Regions from separate parts of the Homo sapiens genome. Here all the other regions are linked to region 2. Evidence: promoter capture Hi-C in 16 types of primary human blood cells and fetal thymus (Javierre and others, 2016). All regions are on one chromosome and are shown on one strand. The core of a region is centred on a gene start or on the middle of the fragment in contact, and the rest is flanking DNA. Distances in the headings are between cores, read along the strand shown. Region 1 has its middle 16 kb from the start of PRDM13. Region 2 holds the start of COQ3 (coenzyme Q3, methyltransferase). Region 3 overlaps PRDM13 (PR/SET domain 13).

Evidence for each region. The method cuts DNA at HindIII sites, captures the fragments that hold promoters and counts their contacts. A CHiCAGO score of 5 or more calls a contact.
Region 1: a fragment that was not itself captured here is called in contact with the fragment with the promoter of COQ3 in region 2 in 4 of 17 cell types (M2 macrophages, total CD4 T cells, M0 macrophages and 1 more); the score reaches 6.7 in M2 macrophages.
Region 3: a fragment that was not itself captured here is called in contact with the fragment with the promoter of COQ3 in region 2 in 1 of 17 cell types (total B cells); the score reaches 5.3 in total B cells.

The regions. Positions count from the first base shown.
Region 1 is chr6:99,589,350-99,592,743 of GRCh38, forward strand. No RefSeq gene overlaps it. Among named protein-coding and RNA genes, the nearest start is that of PRDM13, 16 kb to the right of the region's middle. The HindIII fragment of the contact is 3,193 bases long and covers 522-3,394 here.
Region 2 is chr6:99,391,937-99,395,530 of GRCh38, forward strand. COQ3 (coenzyme Q3, methyltransferase) reads right to left here and starts at 2,259. Exons shown (of 7, transcript NM_017421.4): 1 at 2,138-2,259. The coding sequence starts at 2,243. RefSeq lists an enhancer at 1,515-2,154. The HindIII fragment of the contact is 4,880 bases long and covers 1,744-3,594 here.
Region 3 is chr6:99,609,415-99,612,839 of GRCh38, forward strand. All of the region lies in intron 3 of PRDM13 (PR/SET domain 13), which reads left to right. Among named protein-coding and RNA genes, the nearest start is that of PRDM13, 4.3 kb to the left of the region's middle. The HindIII fragment of the contact is 797 bases long and covers 941-1,737 here.

The DNA of each region.
Region 1 (3,394 bases), core at 868-3,367, 200 kb after region 2:
TCACGGGGGATGGGGGCGGGTGGGATGGGATCAGAAAAAGCTTGAAATTCCTCCTGTACCTTAAACCTAAACAGCTGCGAGAGCCCCAGAGCAGGAAGCGCGGCTGCGGCTGAGAAGCTGGAGGAGGACCGGGGCGGGGAGGAGTAGCCCCAGCAGCAACAGCAGCCAGCCCGGGGGCGTCCTCTCCCAGCGGTGACCAGGGCCAGCCTTTGCCAGCCTGCCCGTCCTCGGACTCCTGGGGAACGTACACACAGCCTTTTGCTTAAGCAAGGCGCTCTGAAGCCGAATTACGTCTGCCTGGCATCCCGAAACACTGACGGCCCTGCTATGGCTGTGGGCAAATTCAGGGGTGGGGGTGTGAGGGGGGGACTAGCAGAGAAAGAGTTAATCTCCCAAGAGGAATATACATCAGTACTCTCCTGTCACTTGCTTTTTATTTAATGTTAATGTTAGACTTCACCAGATATTTCAACTGACAATTTCAACATTTTCACCTACAGAATTTCCTGGAAGGAAAAAAAAGCTTCTTAGTAAACATGTTTCTCTGTCTATGCTTCATAATATTGTCCACTATGGACACAGGAAACCAATCAACCGTTAACAATCACAGACATCATTTTGTGGTGCTTTTTCTTAGGGTATGAATACTTACATTGACTGCAGGTTTAGTTGAACTATAATTGTAACTCTTTGACTAAATGGAACTGATTTTAAATATTCAAACCTTTTTAAACAAAAGTAATAGGGCACGATGGCACTCGCAGCTGTTGGGAGGCTGAGGCAGGAGAATCGCTTGAGCGGAGGAGTTTGAGTTCCGCCTGGGCAACACAGGGAGATCCTGTCTTAACAAAAAAAAAGGTAAACAGTTAAGCATGAGAAAAATAATCTTTCCAGTCTTCCTAGTCTTCCAGAAGGCAGTGACTGACGTCCCTCAAACCATCGACTTTGGTACATTTTCTCCAGAGGATCAAAACCTAGGCCTGACTCTGGCATGGAGCCTGGAACAATGCAAGTAAATTAGACATCCTTTTCCTATGTATGACTGTGCCTTTCTTTGTCATGGTCACCAGGCTCTCCAGACTTTTTGAAAACTACGTAACAGTTACCTTGCAGTGCTCCTGAAAACACGGGGGAAGTTCATATTTGAGAGGCCTGGGAGGGGCTAGGATGATCCTAGTCAAGCACGAGCAGAGCTGCCGCACAGTGAGTGCTCATTGTGTGTTCATGGAAAGCATGAATGATGGTCATACCAAGAGAGGGGCTACCAAACTCTTACAGACGAATGTGAGCGCCAGGATCTCTTTTATTATTATTGATGTCATTATCATCAGTAAAAAAGCATTTAATGAAATTATTTTAAAAGGCTTCTTGCCTAGGGAGTCCAATACCAGCTTGGTACAGTCACAGAGGGCATCTGCCTTCCTTCCCCTCGTCGCCTTCCTCCCACTGTGCGAGCTTCGGAACCCTAAGGCCGGTTCACTGCGCATTGTCCCCGACAAGTTAGCAGCGCTCCCCGAGGGGTGTGAGGCACCAGGTAGGGTGCAGGGCGCGAGCGCGGGGCGGTGGTGCCCGGCGGGGGTGGGGTGCCCACGGACGCAGCCGCCTAGCTCTGCCGGCCGTCCTGAGGCAGCTGCTGGCGCCCGCCGGGAGGCGCGTGGCCACTTGCACTTCAGCGCGCGGTTCTCTCTCCGCAGGCTGCTTTCTAGGATTTGAAAGGGCCATAGCGACAGAAGTCGATCTCTAAGAAGGCATAAACTCGGCCTGAGACGTGGGGGGGAGACACTGCAGAGAAGAGGCCAAGTTCCAGCGCAGAAGGGGGGTTCCGCGGGGCCCTGGGATTGAGGAGACAGGAGCGAGCCTTCCCTTTCCGTCCTCTCAGGAAAACAGCCTGACCTGCTGGCACGTCCACCCCCAACAGAAGAGGGACCCCGGCGCGGCGTCCTTACCATCCCCATCCCCCGACCCCTGAGGAAGCCAGGGCTCTCTTCTTTCCCTGGGCGCCTGTCACAGGGGCAGAGGCTGGGCCTCGAGCTTTTCTGCACGTGAGCTCGGTGGTCCAGCAGAGTCTTCTGGCTCCCGGGAAAGCAGCGTGGCGCCGCCCCAGCCCCCAGTCCCCAGACTAGGGATTGGGACGTCAGTCATTGGCTGCAGGTTACTGGTCTGGGCTGGGCCCGCAGAGATCCCAAGCGCTCCTCTGTCGGTGCTTCCTCAGCGTCTGCGTTTCCGCAGATGCCCGAGGTCAGACAGTTTCGCAAGGGGGCTGAAGAGCCAAATGGGGAAACTGATGGAGCCTCACAAGTTTATTCCTTTCCCACGTCTGTGTTTGTCTAAGGGTGCTTTCTGTGCGGCTTTCTGAACTTGAGCATCACTTTGATGGAATGAAGTACAATCTTATGCCCTGAGCAATAACTTCTTATCGGCGATGACCCATTTAATCACTGGAAAATCTAATTGCATTGCTCCAGAGAGAGAAGTCTTTTTGAGATTCCAGCGTTCACTGTAACATTTCTTGTATCAAGAATGTAGAATCGATTGTTCACATTTATTTTCAGAAAAGGAGATAGAGTTGTAATGTTCTTACAAGTTTCTAACCAGTTTTTAAAAGACCAAACAATACTGAAAGGTAAATTAATTGCAAGCATAGGAGGCAAAACATTAGTTAGAAAAATTAGTCAAAACACCCTCTCATTTCAATTCCCAATGTGCAAGAGAAAGAAGCAAATCAAAATACCCACATCTCACATTTAGGTTACAGAAACTATTGCCTAATTATTCAAACAAACACCTAACATTTCTTTATTCTTTGATGTGGATATTGGTTTCTGTCCTCAGGTTTGTTTCCTCACAATTGATTGCTGCTTTTCTAAGAATCTCATTCTCACAAAACATGCAAACACAGAAATAATGGAGACTGTTTTCTTTTAGACACCCTTTTTAAGATGAAAGAAAACGGTTCCCATGTACTTCCAAAACACTTGCTCTCACTTGTTTTTTTTTTTTTTTTGCCATAATTGTTTCACATGCCTGTTCCTAAACCAGTCAAAAATGAAGGTAAAGGAACTACCATGACTGACTTAAGTTAATCAAGTTTCACCTCTTGGAGTCTGGAGGGACTTTGCATTCCCTAAAGCACTTGACCACTTTTACACAAACTCAGGGTTCTGCTAGCAAAAAACATATGGGGATGATGGTTTTTGGGTTGATATCTTAATATCTTCCATACCTGTGATCAGTCACAATCCCCAGTTTGTTGGCTATCTCTTGTCTAAATAGTTTACCTTCTCACATTTCTAGACCACTGATCATTTGAATCAAGGCAGTCTCCCCCACATTTATCTCTGTTGTATTTAATTATATTCATTCAGAGGAGGGGTAGCTATCTATTATCTGTCAT
Region 2 (3,594 bases), core at 1,009-3,508:
TGCCGTGAACTGTGGTCATGCCACTGCACTCTAACCTGGGATACAGAGCAAGACCTTTTCTCAAAAAAAAAAATTAATTAATCTAAAAAGTAAAAATAAAAACCACTCTACCACCTTACCACAACGGAAAGAGAGTAATTGAGTTTGTATTTAAACAGAATGCTACCAATTCCTTCTCTACCTTGAATCTGTGATCATCCTGGTATTTGAAATTTTAAAGGAATGGGAAAAGGTTTTTTTCATTTTATTTATTGAAAAGTCATTTATTCAGCACCTACCAGGCACCATGCTGATGGTGAATAAAACAGGTGACAGACTTTTACCCTACCAATACTTTATTTCCAGCAATGATAATTTACTGTCTGGATTGCTCTAAGGTCTTCCTGGGCCTAGACTTGCCTGACTCCATCCCACATTCTATGTAGACAGCTGCCAAGTGTTATTTCTTAAACATAAATCTGTTCATGTTGCTTCTTCAGTGATTTCCACTGTCCGCGGGATAGTCTACCTCAGGAGGTGTAAATGGCCTTTCATGAATGTGTCATGGCCAAAAAGGCCTCTTCCTCATCCCTTGCCACCCCCTGCCTTTACCTTCTGCCCTCCACCTACACACTTTACTTTTCAAGGAACCTTGCAGTTTCTCACAAACTTTCTCACAGATTCTCGAGCTGGTCCTTTCCCCTCTCCAACTGCTTTTTTTTTTTTTTGAGACAGAGTCTCACTCTGTTGCTCAGGCTGGAGTGCAATGGTGTGATCTTGGCTTACTGCAACCTCTGCCTCCCAGGTTCAAGCGATTCTCCTGCCTCAGCCTCCCGAGTAGCTGGGATTACAGGCGCCTGCCGCCACGCCCAGCTAATTTTGTATTTTTAGTAGATAGGGTTTCACCATGTTGGCCAGGCTGGTCTCGAACACTTGACCTCAAGTGAGCTGCCTGTCTCGACCAACTGCTTCTAAAACTGGCCACCTCCTTCAAGATTTCTCTAAATATCCCATTCAAGAAGTTTCCTTGATCCCAAATATGGATTAAATGCTCCTTCTATGTTCACCCCTCAAAAATTGGAACTAGGTTTATTATATCTTTTCTAAATTTTTGATTATAAAAGACACATGTTTACTAAAAAAAGTTCAGAAAAAGAAAAGTATATAAAGGATAAAATGATAGAAAATCACCTACTCTACCACAGGCAATCACTGCAAAATTTCTCTATATATCTCCACCTGTAACTCCAAGTTCACTATACATACTGATTTGTAACTTTTTTTTTTTTTTGGCTCCTTCCAGGAAACAATGAAACTTTACTTTCTTAACACTATATCTTACTACTTTTCCATGTGGGTACAAATAGATTTAAATCATTTTTATTGGCTGTACTATTTTTCACTGTATGATAGTACCAACTAATAACCTTTATTAATGGGCGGTTAGATTCCCCATTTTTTTGTTCATTATATCCTGATCTTAGGTTTATCCTAACATTTTTAAAGAGATCCTTGCGGTGTCATTCATTTTTAAATTCCCAGTGCTCATACCAGTGTCTGGCATACAGTATTTGTTAAGAGTTCCATGTGAAAGATGAGCTTAAGTTTCTACTTAATACTGAGAGTTCGAAAATCAGACTGCTGTCTACAAGCACTGAGCAGTGCATTATTTTCTTGATCTCATTTGCAAATGCAGTCTGTTGGATTAACCTATTAATCAAAAAGTAATACAGCTGCCTTAAATTCTTTCTGAAAAAAACAGCAAGCTTTGTGCAAACAAAACACAGATACAAAGCTATGCATAACTACGAGGCGTGAGTTATTCCTGCCCCGGCAAAGGAAAGATGCATGACCTTCAGACTGCAGCACACGCAGAGCGGGTCGCCGGCTCCTGGGGCAAGGAGCTCAGCCACAAGAGACCCGCGGCCTGCGCTTTTCCAGACAGGACCACTGGTCCTGAGCTCTTTTCCCCGGCGTCCGCCAACGGGACTATGCGAGGTTTACAATGGAGAGAGATGGGGCCAGGACCAAGCCTTAGGTTTCGCGCTGACCCCTCGCGAGGTCCAGAGACAACCCACCGCCCCACCCCCGGCGCATGCGCAGAGACGCCAGCGCTCGCAATTGACTGCATGCGAAGGACCTCCGCACACACACTCACCCGCCGAGGAAATTAAGGGACGCGCAGCTTTTGTATTACAGCCTCCAGGCCCCAGCACTCTTAAAAACCAACCCCCGGAGGAGCCCAGCTTACGGCCACTCCACATCGCGACAAACGATCCCACCTCTTTTCCGGTCCCTCCCGAAAAAAGATCCCCAACATAAAGGTTCCGAGATCACTTTCGCCGTCTGCAGCCGACTTTTTTTTTTTTTTTTTTTTTTAGCAGAGTCTGTTCTGTTGCCCAGGCTGGAGTACAGTCCCCATCTCGGATTCTGGGATCACTGCAATCTCCGCCGCCCGGGTTCAAGCGATTCTCCATGTTGGCTGGTCTCGAACTCCTGACCTCAGGTTATCCGCCCGCCTTGGCCTCCCAAAGGGCTGGGATTACAGGCGTGAGCCACCGCGCCCGGCCTGCAGCCGACTTTCATGATTGTATTGTTGAGTGTTATGTATGTATGGCTATACTTTCACGCTCATTTAGCAAATTGCACATGGAATTAAACTGCAAGATGTTTTTACTATCATAAACAACTTTGAAGATACTTTATTGCTATAGGACACCTCAAACCTCATGTTCGAAGTTGACCTCAATCAGGCCATTACTTCGTGCTGTGTCTTCTTTTATTGCCATGTAGCTCTATTTCACACTTAACAGATGTCTCTTCAAGGACTTTTATATTCCTGTAAGACATTGACCCTACTGCTAAGAATGCAAGAGTATGGGAGCACTTCTTCCTCAAGGGAAGAATTGTTTCCCCTTTCAAGGCACTCAAATATCAGATGGCCAGAAGGCCAAATGTAAAACTTATTTTCTGCAAATGACTATTATCTTGTACAGGGTATATACATCATGTAGTAGGAGGCTTCTGTGGCTCAGTCTAGGCAAACTTCATTTAGAGCTAGGAACAGTGATCAGTAACATTTTACGTCTAAATGCACAAAGTCTTTCTTTGGGTAAGAACAATGACGAATCTCCAACATTGAAGACAAAAAATTATTCTGTATTTTCAACAGGTAGGGTCAAATTGGTAAAGGGTTCTTTCAGTTAGCGAAATTTACCGCTCAGGAATCTTTTTTTTTCTTTTTTTTTTGAGACAGCCTCACTCGGTTGCTCAGGCTGGAGTGCAGTGGTAGGATCTCAGCTCATTGCAACCTCCGTCCCCCAGGCTCGGGTGATTCTTCGTGCCTCAGCCTCGTAAGTAGCTGGGATTACAGGTGTATGCTGCCATTCCCGGCTTAATTTTTGTATTTTCAGTCAGGGTTTCACCATGTTGGCCAGGCTGGTCTCAAGCTCCTGACCTCAGGTGATCTGCCTGCCTCAGCCTCCCAAAGTGCTGGGATTACAGGTGGGAGCCACCTCACCCAGACAGCAATAGTCTTTCATTCATGGTTCTTAGCTAAAATATTGACCTCCTCCTAAGGGTGGTCGCACTTTTCAGTTGCTATGTCCTCTTCAG
Region 3 (3,425 bases), core at 89-2,588, 220 kb after region 2:
CTGTATTTCAAGGCAAAGAGGAGAGAGGTCGCCACTACCTCCTTAAAATCAACCATAAACGATAACAGTGATAGTAGCAATCTGGCTCACAATGGCAGGGGAAAAAGTAGGCTCTATGAACTTAATGGGGCCATCCTTTTTCTGTTGCATATTCAAACAGACCATTATTTACTCAATTAAAATAAAAAAAATTAGGCGCGGTAGCTCACACCTGTAATCCCAGCACTTTGGGAGGCCGAGGTAGGAGGATCACTTGAGGCTAGGAGTTCGAGACCAGCCTGGGCAACATAGTGAGACCTCTGTCTCTACAACAAAAAAATAATTAGCCAGGTGCGGCGGTACATGCCTGTAGTCTTAGCTACTCAGGATGCTGAGGCAAGAGGATCACTTGAGCCCAGGAGGTCAAGGTTCCAGTGAGCCGTAATGTTACCACTGCATGCCAGCCTGGGTGACAAGTGAGACCCTGTCTCAAAATAAATAAATAAAAATAAAAAATAAAAAAGGAGCCTTAAGTTGTTGTTACAGTAATTACATCATGAGTTCCACAGAGTATAACTCAAACCTGGAATGCTTTTACAAAGTCCATGGACATTTCTTCTCCACTGGCTTTCCAGGAGAGCAGTGCATTTCTACAGCATTTTAGAAGTATTACGGTACTTACAGCTGGTCAGTTGGCAGGTACTGAGACCCTTCCATTTAAGTGGCATTTATTCATTTCCCCTTGCCTACTTAAGTTGAATCTGGGATGTATCCCAGTTTCTTCTCAGATTTATTTGATCCCTTCAAAGCCAAGAGCGGATTTATGCAAATTAAGGTGCAGTAACTAAACAGAAAAACATTTTTAAACCTACCCTTGAACACTGAAGAACACTTCCTGTGGAAAGAAGTCTAGGAGGTGCTAGAATAGTTGAGGTTTTGGAGACTTCCTTTTCACACACAAAGCTTCCATGGCTTTTTTTCTTTGACAATTGTCTGTAATTTCTCCTAAAGACACATTTAACATCAAAATAATGAATGCTGTGAAATATTCTAACATGCTGTCTTCCTGAATTGCCTGCTCAATCTCATCCCTTTAGAAATAGGTTTAGAGAAATCAATACAAGTATGTGAATTAGGAAACACTTCATGAATAACACAGAATGAAGTTTATTCAAAACAATGAATCACTTTAAAGTATCATCGTCCTCTGTAAGTTAATTCTGTTTATTTTGTAGGTATAGTATTCAAATTATCCTAAAATAGTTTGTTCCTTGCATCACATTATATTACATTCTCTTGTCAACTTCTTCCAGTAAAAAGAGAAGTATAATAAAAGCCACATAGTGGAGAACTCTCAAATCTGCCACTATAGAATTTGGCGGGCCACTAACCTTTAGAAGCCAGCCATTTCTACAGAGAACACCCTTTCTTAGGTAGTCCCAAATAGTACAAAAGCAACTGGAATAGCGGTCCTTGTGTTTTCCTTTCAGCCAATTGAGCTTATAAACATCATATGGTAACAGATGTCAAAATAAACATTTTTTTTTTCTGGAGGTGAGAAGGCATGGGTGATTTTGAACCCTGACTTCCCCAGCTTGGAGAAGTTTGAACTCTTGACCACCTTAGAGTTACATGAAGAGGAGGCAGTCACTTGTTAAATGTATTTGATACTCTTGGCATGATTTGGATCTCAGAGTCTGGAGAATATGTCAGTTAGGATAACTGAAAAAAAGTATATATTAAACGTATGCTGCTTAAAGCTTGGAAAGAGGAAGAAATAAATAGGGATGGCTGCTATCCTCCTAATACTAGCTAACTTCAGTGGGTTTCAATTTCATAGTAAGATGGAGGAAAATACTGCCCCCTCATTTTAAGAAAAAAGCTTATGTGGCTTTGCATTGAGCTGAGTCATTCTGCGGCAGACTCTGAAAACTCCCTCTTTCAAAAGGGGTGATGAGAGAGAGAAAGGCTCTGAAGTTAGAAGGAAGTTATTTAAGACAACATACCCACCAAGAGAACCCAGGAGGTCTATTCTCTCTTTTTTTCACGATTCATTTTACATGAATGTTCAGTACAAGGTAACAGAATATTGAAATGGTTTTATCTAAGACTTCTATAAACGATTAGGGTAGGGTGTCATAGGCAAATACTCTTCTCCCATTTTTCTTTCTGCTCTCCTTGGACTCAGTTGGAATGCAGTGCTTATCACTTGAGTTTTCACAGGTCTTATGGGGTAGGGGTGGGAGCTACTTGTGTTATGCAAACCCAGAAGTTAATATACATAAAGGGAAGAAGATCTGGAATTCTTCCCTATTGTTATTTCTGTAGTAATATTTCAGAAGTTTGAGCTGCTCATATATGCAGAGGGAGAATTTAACTTTCCTGTTAAATTTTATGAGACTGATGTATATTTTGGATATTTCCTTGCGGTTCAACTAACTTCTTTCTCAGACATCTTTCCCTTCAGTATTATCAATCAACCACATTTTAAAAGAAACCCAACTGCAAGATCATTTCTCTCTACAGCAGTAATATGACCCTTTTAAGTGGAAATTAACTTCTAGTATGTGATCAGAATGTCTCATATATGTGTCTCTTGATTGTGTTCACAAACTCGGGCAAAATGAATAAACTAATGCTAATAATACTAAACACATAAAAAGATTTCACACCAAACACGTATATAGTGCCCGGTAGAGAATTCTGCACTTATTAAAAGCTGAGTATCTATATTTATTTATCGATCTATATCATTTATATATATTCATATAATAAAAAACTAATATATTTTCTCCAAAGACTTTACTAAGCTTGGATTTGTGCAGCTATCTAGGAGTTAATTAATTACCAAGTGGCAGACAAGACAAGACAATGCAACATCATCCTTCTTAGATTATCATCACCCTTTTTAGAGTATCAGGGCATAAGAATTTTTTCTTTTCTCCCAGCAAATTAAATGGTGTTAAAGAGGAAATAAAGATACAAATAATTTTGAAGAATGGCAAATCATAGTCCCTATGTGGTCCTTCAGTTGGTCACGCTCCAGGAAAACCTCAGGCAAAGTGTTTAAGGCTGGAAGGGGGTGGAATGGGTGGGTAGGGGACACAAAAGACATTGTCCTGTGAAAAGGAATGATTACATATGGCCTATACATACAGGATATTGTCTCGCCTGGTAATGAGGCGCTCACGACCATTAGATTGGTCTTTGTTCAGCTTATCCAAACTCCTTGACATACGCCACCTATTCTGCAAACGCCAACAGATGGGCCCAGGCACTGCACAGCCTCAACACTTGATTTAAAGCAACAGCTGCTCTTTGCTCTTACACGGCCAGCCTGCCTGAGTGCTGCCCTTCCAACGAAGATTTTGCTCGGATGGCCTGGAGGAAGTCTTCGTTGGAAAGGCCCCGTCACCTTTTTTGGCCTCCGAGTAGTCCCAGAGGAT